Linked DNA regions of Homo sapiens: region 2 is linked to region 1. The links are contacts of gene promoters, found by promoter capture Hi-C in blood cells and fetal thymus (Javierre and others, 2016). All regions are on one chromosome and are shown on one strand. Each heading gives the region's core, a stretch centred on a gene start or on the middle of the fragment in contact. The rest is flanking DNA. Distances are from core to core; before and after follow the strand shown. Region 1 holds the start of PACRG (parkin coregulated). Region 2 overlaps PRKN (parkin RBR E3 ubiquitin protein ligase).

Region 1 (6,290 bases), core at 2,549-5,048:
TAGAGGTACCAAAAATTACATTTTTCTAAATTGAATTCTTTTAAGCTTTTCTATTCTGCTTTATATCATCTTGAAGTCCTTCTCCACACTTTCCACAAAGGCACAATTTTTAACCGACTTCAATTAAATTATGTTTCTGTAGCTGCCTGGGTCAGGGCATTCAACACATCAATCACAATGCAGGTGGGAAATGTAAGTACTTTTGAAACAGTCCTCATGCCAATAAGGGAATCTTCGGTTTTGAGAAAGTAAAAGGAAGGTACATGTCATTAGCAGTGAGGTCACAGTCAGTCCTGTTTACTCCTATTCTACCAGGAAACCCATCTTTACGTTTCTCCTTAAACTAAGCCAGGATTTAAATAAAGTGGCAGAATATTATTCGCAGTAAGGTTGAGGCGGGAAATTAAAGAACAATAAAATTAAAAAGAAAGAGAAATAAGTTTTCCTGTTTTAGGCTAACTTGTTCCAGAAGCAGCAACAGGCACAGCCTAGACCCAGGAAAAGTCTTGATAATATTATCTAATATGCTCTGGAGACTCTCTCAGCACTCCCTCAACACAGGGAGAAGAAAAACAAATTTTCCTTTGTTTTACAGAATGAGTTTATAGACTCTTGTTCTCTGTAACTAGTGATTTCAAGTATTCTGTTTTATCTAAGTAGTACAACGAAGGTCATAAAAAGCCTGAGTAGGCCTGAACTACAGCTGCCTGGGCACCACAGAGAAGGTTATAGGATAAGCCTGTGCCCAGGCAAACCTAGAAAACGAACATCTGGGTTGCTTGGCAATGGTCATCTGCAATCCTGTCTTTGTCCTGCCTCTGTATCCCTGCTTTCACGCCACTGTAAGCTTGCTTCAAGCTAGCCCACCTCCGTTTGTGAAGTGTGTATAAAAGTCAAGTACTGTCTTTATTCTGGGCCCAGTCTTTTGGATGTGAGTCAGCTGGGCCTGAGTACACTCAATAAAGATTCTCCTGCTTCAACCTGAGGTCTCCCTCATACTCCCGAATCCCGCAACAAGGTGAGTGTAATAGTTAGAGAAAGCATAGGCCTGAAAGGAGCAAGCTTTGAGAAGCACTCTTACCTTTAACAGAAAATCCCAGATACATACTATTTACATTTTAGTGATCACTGGATAAAGTCTATAATGTCTTTCCTGGCTCTGAATTTTTGTCACAAAAACACAAAACCCATCACTCCAAGGCTTCCTTTTAATGGTTTTCACTTTCACCTACCTTTAGCACTGTTCACGACACCCAAATCCCAAACTGACCATTCAGATGTTTACTGAAATGTGGCTAATGAGGCTGGGCGTGGTGGTTCATGCCTGTAATCCCAGCACTTTCAGAGGCGAATGCGGGAGGATTGCTTGAGCCCAGGAGTTTGAGACCAGCCTGGGCAACATTATGAAACTCCATCTCTACAAAAACTATAACAAAAAATTGGCAGGCATGGTGGCACACACCTGTAGTCACAGCTACTCAGGAGGCTGAGATGGGAGGATCACTTGAGCCCAGGAGTTGGAGGCTGCAGTGAGCTGTGATGGTGCCACTGCACTCCGGCCTGGGTGACAGAGACAGAACCTGTCTCAAAAAGAGGAAAAAAAAAAAAAAAAGACGTGTGTCTAATTTCAGAATTAGGCAATGCAACTAGTTGAATATTTTATTGCACATTGTCCATGATCTTATATGTAAGGCACATTTCCTAGGGAAAGCAGGCATGGATTTAATCATTTATGTTGTACTGCACACTTATTTGCACTATGTAAAACCATGGCTGGAGTGAGAGAAATAACACTTTTAAAAACCAACCTTATATTCTCCATGTCATTACCAGTAATTGATAACTGTTTAATCATCAACTCCAAAGATATTTCTTCCTTATTGGAAGAATTCCAGATAAAACTAAACAGAACTGTCCAAACACATTTCATCCTAATAAAGTTATTTATATAATCACTTATTAGGTCATAACTTATAACTGAGTAATGTTCTTTAGATCTTAAGTGCTTGTCTTTATATAGCTTTACAATAAATTTGTTTCTCTTAAAATTATCTGTGCACTAGATTAAGTTAAATTAAAATAAAATGTATTTAACTGTCTTCAAAATAAGGTATAGGCTATTTTCTTCCTGTAGACTGACAGCACAGATATTGGAAAATCTCTTCTACTTGGTTTTCTGATTCAGTTCAAACTTGTGCTTGCAAGTGAATCTTACGTAAATGTCACCTAAAAAGAGCTCAAGAAGACTCATAAAAAATATTTTTTTCGTAATTTGATTAACTTTCAAGTCATTCACCAAAAGTCAGACCATGCTAGAAAGGGAAGAAAAGTTGGACAACATTCTTGTTTTACCACAAAGACCATGCCAGTTAGCTGGCTTGATTCTCCCACTGATGGGGAGAATGTTTACATTTTAACAATAACTTCACAAATAAACAGATGTAAGAAGTGTTTTCAGTGCATAAAGATCATATACTTTATAAATCCACCTCTCATCTTTCTTCTGGACAGACCACATCTGACTTCGAACGTACTTACTGCAATCAAAAGTGTTTTGTAAAGGACCCTCCTCAGGAATAAACAAGCTCACTAAACCCTCCATACATAACCTGGAGAAACCTCCACAATAATGAAACCCCATCTAGCACTGTTTTTCAAACATATGGTGCATTTCCATTAATTTTCAGGGATAGCCCCTAAAGTAACTTTTGGCTCAACAACCCTGGAAGAGAGGACCTTTGCTCATCTTACACATCAAGTGTTCATGAACAACTCTGATGCCACTAAGTTTCGTTCACAAACTTGCACCTCGGTCGTTCTTTTACAAAAAAAAAAAAGAAAGGTTATTTTGCAAAAGGCAATAGATTTAATCTTGGCTACTATTTACTCTTAATGTTTCTTTCATCTCAGCCCTCCAATGAGAAGTTTAAAAGGAAACATCCGAGGGAGCAAGTTTAGATCTATCTGGAGGAGTTTCTGTGGAGCCAGCCACCCTCACCAGGTGCCTTCCATTAGAGTTTAATGCTTTGCTGCGGTTTCCTGAAAGAGCCCCACAGAGAGTGGGTCTCGATGGGTCCTGAACCGCACCACAACCGGCCAGTGAGGTGAGGGGCGAAGGTGAGGGGCGGCGGCGGGGCGAAGGTGAGGGGCGGCGGCGGGGAGAAGGCTTCGGGACCCCACACGGTCCGGGGGACCGCGAACGAGGAGCGGGGGTGCGGGGCCGCCTGGCGTCCCCGTCGAGGCGGTCTTCATGAGAACGCTCAGAGCAGGGGCGGGCAGGCGAGGGCTTCGAACGCACACACTGGGGCCCCGGACCCGCGTCGCTGAGCTGGGGAGCCCGGCGGCGCGGGCCGGGGACGGCACGGGCACTTTGGCCCCGTCATTGACAGTTGGCACCGGGGGTCCTGGTCGGCCGAGGCGGGGCGTGGCGCCATACCGGGGCGTGGGGCGGCGCAGAGAGGCTGTACCTGGCAGGTACCCACGTACCTATCATGGTCACTGGGTAGGTGGCGGCTGCGGGCCAGGAACAGGCCCATGCGCGCAGCGGCGCCAGCCGCGCCTCCCACCAGCGGCTCTCCTGGGTTAAATCCTCCAGGCCTCCCCGCCCCCGCGCCCGGCCCTAGGAATGCGCACGCGCGGAGGGCGCGGCCCAGGGCCTGCTGGGAGTCGTAGTTCTAACGCGTAGTTTCTCCTCACGCCTCCTGCCCCCAGCCCCCCACCGCCGCCCTTTCCGGCTTCAGGCCCAGCAATCTTACGTCACCGGGGGGCGGGGCTATGCGCCCGCCGTGTTGACCAGTCGCTTAGCAACCGGGAGGCTTACCTTTGGAAGCTTGTTGCAGCTCTAGCCAAGGTCCTGCCCTCTTCCCGCCCCGCCCCTAGGGTCCAGCTCCCTTCACCTAGGAGCTGCCAAACATCTGGATCAACCTGGGCACTACGAGGGGTTGAATTTCTACCATTATCGCGCCTTTTGATATTTTTTTCCAGACCTCCTGCTCACATCCGTAAAGCCCACTGATTCTTTTACTACACTTTTTATGAGAACAAGACATTTTCTAGGAAGATGGTGGCAGAAAAAGAGACCCTGAGCTTAAACAAATGCCCAGACAAGATGCCGAAGAGGACCAAGCTGCTGGCACAACAGCCGCTCCCGGTGCACCAGCCTCACTCTCTGGTTTCTGAGGGTTTCACAGTCAAAGCCATGATGAAAAACTCAGTCGTAAGTGATCTTCCTGAATTAAATGCACTCGCTCTGAATCAGGGGACACGAGATTTACAGAGGTTGGCCAGCCTTAGGATGGACTCTGAGCCATGTCCTGGGTGGTCTTTGCCAAAAAAGGCAGTTACTTGGCAAGTAGCAAACGGTGCCCCACAGTGTGTGGGGGGCAGGCTAGGTTGTTAGAATCTTGGGCAAGTGATGTACTCTGCCCATTTATAAGCACCTTCCTGATAACTTATGGTTTCTGGACCGCCCAAAATTACTCTTAAGCTATTTACACGAGGAAAAAAGATCCCCTTTACTTACTAATTCCTAACTAGCCCCACTCAGCAAAGGGCCTTATAGAAGGTGAGTTCTTAGAAATCATAAACTCTTGCAAAATTTAACATGAGCTGATATACAACCGGGAACATAAACTCATGAAATAATCTATAATGAGAAATTTCTTCACTTCAACCTAGGAAATTTTAGAATATCCTAGCATTTGCTCTAACAACACTTGTCTCTTACAAAATGATGTCATCTTCTTAGAGTACTGAAAGCCAACTTAATATGAACACTGTTTCCTGACAGGCCTTTTAAGATGATGTGCTTTAAACAATACAAGCTTTAGCTCATATATCTCTGCTACTAATACAATTCATATTTCATCTCTATTATTTGTAGTAATAAAAATAAAATATTCTAAGTATCATTAGAGAAAAAAGATTAAAAATATATACAAATATTTTAGCTGTCTGCATGATAGTATATATTTTTTAAACCTTCCTATTTGTTAAATAGCTTTACACTTGGTATGCTAAGACAGATTTTGCTACTGAGTAAGCAACTGTCTGGGAATGAGGCATTAAATAATAAATGCATCTTTCAAATTTGTGTAATTTACACCCTGGGAAGATCTGAGTTATTACATGGCAATTCATTATGTTAAATGAATAGTGTTGTTTTCCAGTGTCACATTATTTCCTTTGCTTATAGGTTGCAAACCTGATAACTTATTCCTAAACGACATACTTAAAATACATGAATGAAACAGATTACCTATAGACCTCTAGGCCAGGTTCCCATGTGGCTATGCAAAACGATATCCTAATTATTGGGAAGTGTGTCAGGTGATTTACAGTAGTTAAAATTCTTGGAAATGGACTAAAATTCTGCTTGTTGTAACTAATTCTTTTTCATGGAATTTCACATAAATTGGTTCTCCTAGGAGTCAAGATGATGCATTTATCAGCAATACCATAACCATTCAGGTTAATCATTTAGTTTTTCTTCTACACAATATTTACAATTTTGATGTTTTTTAATGTTATACTTTAATTTTTTTTTTACTGGTTGGGGTTCTTTTCTGTTTTTTCCTAAACCTGTATTCATAATTCTTGTATCATATTAATTCTTTAATATAATCTTACACCTAAAGAGATAGTTCTGCAAAATCTGATGTTTCTGTATTGCCAAATGTAATAAGTATGCCTACATGACTTAAAAAAAACATTGATTATGAAGCAGGCTTCTTTATAAACAACTTAATTGAGATCCATTATCTTCTCTTTTTATGTTCTAAAGGAAAATCTTGTACTAGCAATACCTCTCTTGCCATTGGAAATCGTAATTCTTAAATGCAAACATTATTTATCCATTCATCTATTTATTCAGTCAACAACTGTCTCTCTTTTTTTTTTTTTTAATACCCAGTGTTTGCTAAGCACAGTTCTGGGGATTTGGGATCAGCAAAGCAAAGTCCCTGCCCTTAGTACTCCGAGGAAAACCAAAATAACAACATTCAAATCTTGATAAAAGAAGGCTGGACAATACCGTTTATACAAAATAACTTCAGTGGTACAGGAAATAAAAATTTTCAATTTCATAACCAATATTTACATTTCACCATTTTTATCTTTAGCAGTATAGACTTCTCAGCATTATAAGGTGAAAATGTCCTCATCTCTTTCTGAAGGTGTATTTTGATTCAGGACGTGTATGCCAATTTCCAGCTTTTCTTAATTGCAACCTCATGCTCCAAGAGCCAACACCCTCCAAACCACTTTTCCAGTTAGATAAGTCAACATTCCAA
Region 2 (6,290 bases), core at 1,844-4,343, 590 kb before region 1:
AGATTAGGTTTCATAAAGCAGAAACGTACATCAGCCTCAGAGGACATGAGTAAAAAGTATAAAAACAGACCCGCACCTATACATAGGAATAAAATGAAGTATCTGTAGGTACCAGTTGATCTGAAATGGCCCACTCCAACGAACAGAAGGTGCCTGCCTGCAAGCCTACTTTGAGTTGTTTTAAACATTATGAACCTGACAGAGCGAGACTCCATCTCAAAAAAAAAAAAAAATTATGAACCTGCCAGGATACTGAATAAATGCTACTTAGTACAAATGTCCAAATATAGGAAAGTCCATTATATTTTTGGAAACTTAATGTCACCAATGACTTCATTTATTAAAAAGGCACTCTGCATGTGAGATAAAGTTGGGTATTTGAATGATTTTAAGTCACTAAATAGTTCTGTGAAAACAGTTCAGCAGAATTAGCTATTAGAATAAAAGCATTGTCCTTGATAATATGATTCTGAACATTCAATTGGGGATTGCATTATGATTCAGTTTTCGCACTCTAAAATCCAACTTCCCTTTTAGTTTCCTGTTTAAAATTATAATTTCTAAGACTAAGAGCCACAATTGCCCTTCTAGCCTTTTGCTTTTCATGATAATTTAGAAAAAAAAGAAATTGAGAAACATATGGCAGGTAATCATTTGCAAACACACGACTCTTTCAATGCCTGCCATGTTCAACTTCATTTTATAGCATCTATCTTGGCAATATAAATTGTGTTTGGCTGCAGAGGTATGCAGTGCAGTACAATGAAGAAAAGCAATCGTGACAACTGAAAAATAAACAACAAATGTGTGTTTGTGAGGGAGAGAATGTGTGTGTGTATATGTGTGTGTGGTTTAGACGGCACCAGCTCTCTGCTTTTCCGGCTTTCTTCCAAAGGGGAATGGTGTTATTTTCGTTGGTTTCCTTGTTCCCTTTTACAGCAAAGCAATGCCACTGGAGGAAAGACAATTGCCACATCTCAGAGGGTTGCCAAATGACCTCAAACCAGTTCAAAAGGAGCGCCCTCACCAGTTCCACAAATGAAAGCAATTTAATGCAGGTGGATTGGGTCAGGAATATTTACTATTATAAAGGCCATGTTTTTTGAAACAAGAGCCTACATTATATTAATTTTTAAAAGTGGTAGCACAGGAAGACTGTAAGATTATTTATGATGGCCGGGTGCAGTGGCTCACGCCTGTAATCCCAGCTCTTTGGGAGGCCGAGGCGGGCAGATCACAACATCAGGAGATCGAGACCATCCTGGCTAACACGGTGAAACCCCGTCTCTACTAAAAAACACACAAAAAGTAGCCAGGCGTTGTGGCGGGCGCTTATAGTCCCAGCTACTTCGGAGGCTGAGGCAGGAGAATGGCGTGAACCCGGGAGGCGGAGCTTGCAGTGAGCCGAGATCGCGCCACTGCACTCCAGCCTGGGCGACAGAGTGAGACCCTGTCACCAAAATAAATAAATAAATAAATAAAAATAAAAATAAAAAAGATTATTTATGATATAGTGACTATTCAGAATGAAACATGCTAGCATACTCACGTTTTTGTAAACTTTGACTTTCATGCAACTTCCCCAAAATTCTCTCAAAAGTAAGTTTTCTGGGTTTTTAATAAAAATTATCAAAAGTATCTAAGATTCAAAACTTTGAAAGTATATAACTAAGCCTTCAAAATCAAATCAAATTTACCTAATGCTTTATTTTTCAATGGGTTTTGATAAACCAAGTTAAATATATTTGGAATACTTCAACTGTGCAATCTACAGTTTAATGTATTCAGAGACATTCTAGCTCAAATAAGTGCAGTCACTTGTCTTACTGTTCAATTAACATTCAAATTAACCATTTAAATTTCAACATATTTTGCTTTATTGATTATGTATTTTAAGACAACATAAAAATGAAAGAAAACATGCTTGATTTGGAGGCAATACATGCAAATTACCCATGGCAGTCAATATTGGTAATAGAGAAACTTAAAAAGCATCCAGTTGATTTCAAATAAATGTAGAATACTGCTATATAGTATACTTTGCATAAGTGGTATATACTGTTGGGAAGTAGGGGGAGCAAAAGAAGCTTATGTACATGGAGTTAACACACACGAAGAGCAGGTATAAAGAAATAGCTGCCCATTGTCCCATTTGATGGAAGTAGCCTTTTTCCCTAGAGAAGAAGCATTAAAGGAGAGTCAGTCTAACCAGGATTATTTGTGTGTTATCTGTTCTGAAAATAGCGCACTCAGGCAAGATGATCACCAAAACCTTTCCATAAATATAGTCTGCAATGCACCATTGTAAGCTGTCCCGTTTACTATTTTGACTCATATTAAATGCCAAGAGTATGTAAACACATGATCACTTATATTAATATCCATGCATAAGCTGCTTAAAAGATTTTAGTTCACAAAACTCAGATACGAAACTGCAATAAGTCTGAAAAGCAGTAAGGCAGGAGAGAAGGAGAGTAGCCAATTAAGAAATGGATAGAAAAAAAATGAAAATGCATAGTGAGAAGGGGTATTATACTGGCTAAATGTACAACCCCAGGTCATGGGGTTACCTGCACCAGAGAATTCCAGATGCTAGCCCTGGCTCATGCAGCACAGATGGCAGCCCAGTGGTGAAGAGCCTGCATCCGGCAGTCAGACTTCCTGGCTCCACATCCTGTCTCTGCCAGGTACTTGATGTATGGCTTTGGTCAAGTAAGTTAAACTCTCTCTGCCTCAGTTTCCTCATTTGAATAATGGAGATGAGCATCGTTCCTCCATTATAGGCTTGTTATGGAGACTAAAGCAGTTAATGATCATAAAGGTCTTAGAACTGTGGTGGGAACATAGTAAGCGCTATGTGTCTCCTAGCCGAATGACCATCCTGACCCCCTGGATTTTTTATTTATGCAATAAAGATAACAACACAGACCTCAAAAGGCACTTATAATCAAATTATTTGAGTTAATATTTGTACAGCATTGCCCACAGTGACCAAAATAGAGTAAACAAACAGTAAACAGTAACAGAATCAGTATTGCTTTAGTGAAGAAACAGCTAAGATTTAATAAACACCTACCATGCTGAGCACTTTACATTATTAATTCATTTTATCCGCTAACAACCATGTTTGAGGTAGATTTTATCATCATCTCTACTACAAAGATGGGAAATTGGAAACAGGTAAATAATAATGATAAATACTACTAGTCTGAGGAAAGCTACTAGAATTGAATAAAAAATTACTTATAAACCAAGGCAATCAACCTAATTAATTAGCCTTTGGACTTTTTCTCAGTTAATTCCCAATTTTGTGACTGAATTGGTCAAGATGATTTGCAGTGTTGGCACGTAATACATGGCCAATTGTTCTAGGAGATGTTCTTTATTTATTTATACATGTGAGAATTACTGAACACCTTGGCAGAGGCCACTAGCTAGTTGTCTTGGTGATACATATTTTTCTCCTTCTTCCTTGTTGAGTAATGAGATATTTAAGGTGGTAAAATGGCCACCCACAACACTAGATTTCCAAGTCTCCCTTGCAGCTAGAAGTATCATTGACTAATTTCTGGCTAATGAAATGTTGGCAGAAGGTTAAAATTATTCCTTAAATGCAAAGAATGAAGCTGGCTGGTACGAGTCTTTATCAGCAATTCTCCTTTCTTCTTCTTGCTTGCACTATGGACTTGATGGCTGATGTGCCATAGAATGTCTTGGACCAAGAGGTGACCTTGGGAAAATAGCCATGCACTATAAGGGCAATGAGGCAGAGATCCTGGTTCTCAGTGGTGATACATGGCGGCTTTAGACTACCTATGACCAGACTTCTACTACAGAGAAAAATGTACACTTCTGTCAGCTTTAAAATCACTGGAATTTTTGGACTTTGTTCCTAGCAGGTGAATACAATTCATGCTGATATGAGCAGCCATATGAACTGAACATCAAGGGCAAACAAGATACATTTGAAGAAAATAAGAATGCAAATAATTAAATGCAATAAAGCATTGCACATATTAGGTAATAAATAGCACAGGGTATAATGAGATTGCCCAGGAGAAAAGTGTTTATTCTGTCTGCATGGGTTTCTTAGAGGTGATGAAGCTTGAATTGAGTCTTGAAAAATGAGAAGGCATTTGATTCAAGAAGACAGGAGTGAAGCGACGGGCTGCAGCCATTCCAGGCACAGAGAACTCATGGGGAAAAAGTCACAGAGAGATATGAGTAATTAGATATTTCTGAATCAAACTGTTATTAGTCATTAGGGTCAAAAATATATAATTTCATACAGAACGGATGGCATATTTGATTGAATAAGACATTATAAAAATTATCTGGCTCATTTAAAGAAATCTACATATTCTTCTCCATGTAATATGCTTAAAAGTGGTTGACACTTAAGAAGGCAAAGAAAGGGGCTGGTGATGCGGCTTGCTATCACAGGCTCTCTCTCAAAATGTAGGTGCTCACTACCCCAGCTTGACCCTGTTACCGCGCACACTTGGTTGAGGTTAACAAAGCGCACTTGGAGAGAACTTTAAAGGCAACCTTTAGAAAAGCACAAATCTCCAATAAATTAATATTCTCCCATCATGATAAAAACACATAAAATATGCAAGATGGATTTTAATATTCATGACTCACATCTTTCAAAAGATTGGTGAGATATCAAATGTGATACGATAACAAAAAAGCACTTTGTAGAGGTGCTCAAAGTACTTTCAGCATTAATGAATTCTTATAATACCCTTGTAAGAAAGAATGGAGGCAGAGATTATTCACCATAACTTACAGATGAGATCGAGGTGGAAGGATGCTGTCAGAAGATCAGCTGGTGTAGGTTTATGGTGCTCCGAGCCTTCCTGGGAGCTGGCTTCCCTACAATGTCTGCAGTAGGTGCACACGAACTGTAGGACCTATGGTCACAGGCCCACCCCCAGGTCAACCTTTGGTTGTAGCTTCACCACTGCAGAGGGGGCATAATGACAGCTTACATAGTTGATTTCAGGAACTTTTGGTAGTTCTAATTGACTGCTGAGAATTGCACCAATTTTTAGCTTGGCATGAGCAAAAAGCAAACAGCTTGCTTGGGTTGCTAACCCTGACTGTAAAGCTTCGGCACAGTGGAAAGTCTCACACTGACAGGCCTTGGTGAGAGAACCACATTTGCTCCTTATCTAGTAACATTTAAGGCTACGGTGGAGTGAAACGACGAGGATGAACGTAAAAGGCCTAGTACATTAAGGGATGAGGAGCATAGCACCAACTCATCATTTTTAGTTCCCAGAACTTAATCAAGGATTCAGGCTTTCACACAGAACTCCCATTGGTCATTTCTTTTTAATCACTAATTATAAGAGAGATCACAGATTAAATTTCCAAAGAGGAAAAATCCCTGATGACTTCCTGTAGTCAAGGTATTCACTTCAACGCAATTTATTACGGAAATTGAACTCTTCTGATGATGATGGGTAAAAATAACCTTCAATTTCCCTTTTAGGTGTGTAGACATACAAGCAATCCCCACTTTTCTCAGCTTTGAATTTTGTTGCTCTCAGGGTTTAGCTGTTTAATAAAGACCTGGATGTCAACAGTTCGTACCAGTGTTCAAACAGATAAAGACAATACATTCAGAATAAGGATATGTAGAATAAAACACAGGGATTTCCCCAAATGGTGATTTGGGTGGTCTGGGGAAATTGTTCTTTTCCTGTAAGTAAGGACCATCTCATTATTTTGTGCTAAGCATAATGTCAGGCCCACTGTGCCTGGGAATATTTACACATTGGGGGGAATTATTGTTGCTAGTGGAGAGTCTTGCCTGCAAGTTGTCCAGGTTCTTGGTATTTTGAACAAAGAATTAGACAAATGCACAGCAAAGCAAGGAACAAATGAAGCAAAGAAAGCAGAGATTTATTGAAAGCAAAAGTACACTCCACAGTGTGGGAGTGGGTGAAGCAGCAGCTCAAGGGCCCCAGATAACAGAATCTTTTTGGGTCCAAATACCCCCAGAGGTTTCCCATTGGCCACTTGGTGGACATCTCATGTAAATACAGTGTTGGCCCGCAATCAGCATCCAGGTCAGCTTGGCTGCAGAAAGCAACCAATCAGGCTGAAGTGAAGTTACAAAGGTCATACTCCTAAACAAACATCTGATGGGCGGCGAAAAGCAACCAATCAGAGGCTAAAGTTACAAAGTTGCACTTCTATGCAAATGAAGACTTGGCCTGTAATCAGTCTGACTGGTTGCAGACAGCACCAATCAGAGGCTGAAGTGAAGATACAAAGTG

The links. The method cuts DNA at HindIII sites, captures the fragments that hold promoters and counts their contacts. A CHiCAGO score of 5 or more calls a contact.
Region 2: a contact is called between a fragment that was not itself captured here and the fragment with the promoter of PACRG in region 1, in 1 of 17 cell types (M2 macrophages). The highest score is 6.4, in M2 macrophages.

What each region holds. Positions count from the first base shown.
Region 1 is chr6:162,724,176-162,730,465 of GRCh38, forward strand. PACRG (parkin coregulated) reads left to right here and starts at 3,799. Exons shown (of 5, transcript NM_001080379.2): 1 at 3,799-4,216. The coding sequence starts at 4,061. PRKN (parkin RBR E3 ubiquitin protein ligase) reads right to left here and starts at 3,591. Exons shown (of 12, transcript NM_004562.3): 1 at 3,487-3,591. The coding sequence starts at 3,493. RefSeq lists silencers at 3,169-3,708, 3,198-3,419. The HindIII fragment of the contact is 2,767 bases long and covers 1,061-3,827 here.
Region 2 is chr6:162,139,673-162,145,962 of GRCh38, forward strand. The region is part of intron 4 of PRKN (parkin RBR E3 ubiquitin protein ligase); the gene reads right to left. Among named protein-coding and RNA genes, the nearest start is that of LNCR-SMAL, 92 kb to the right of the region's middle. The HindIII fragment of the contact is 2,017 bases long and covers 2,086-4,102 here.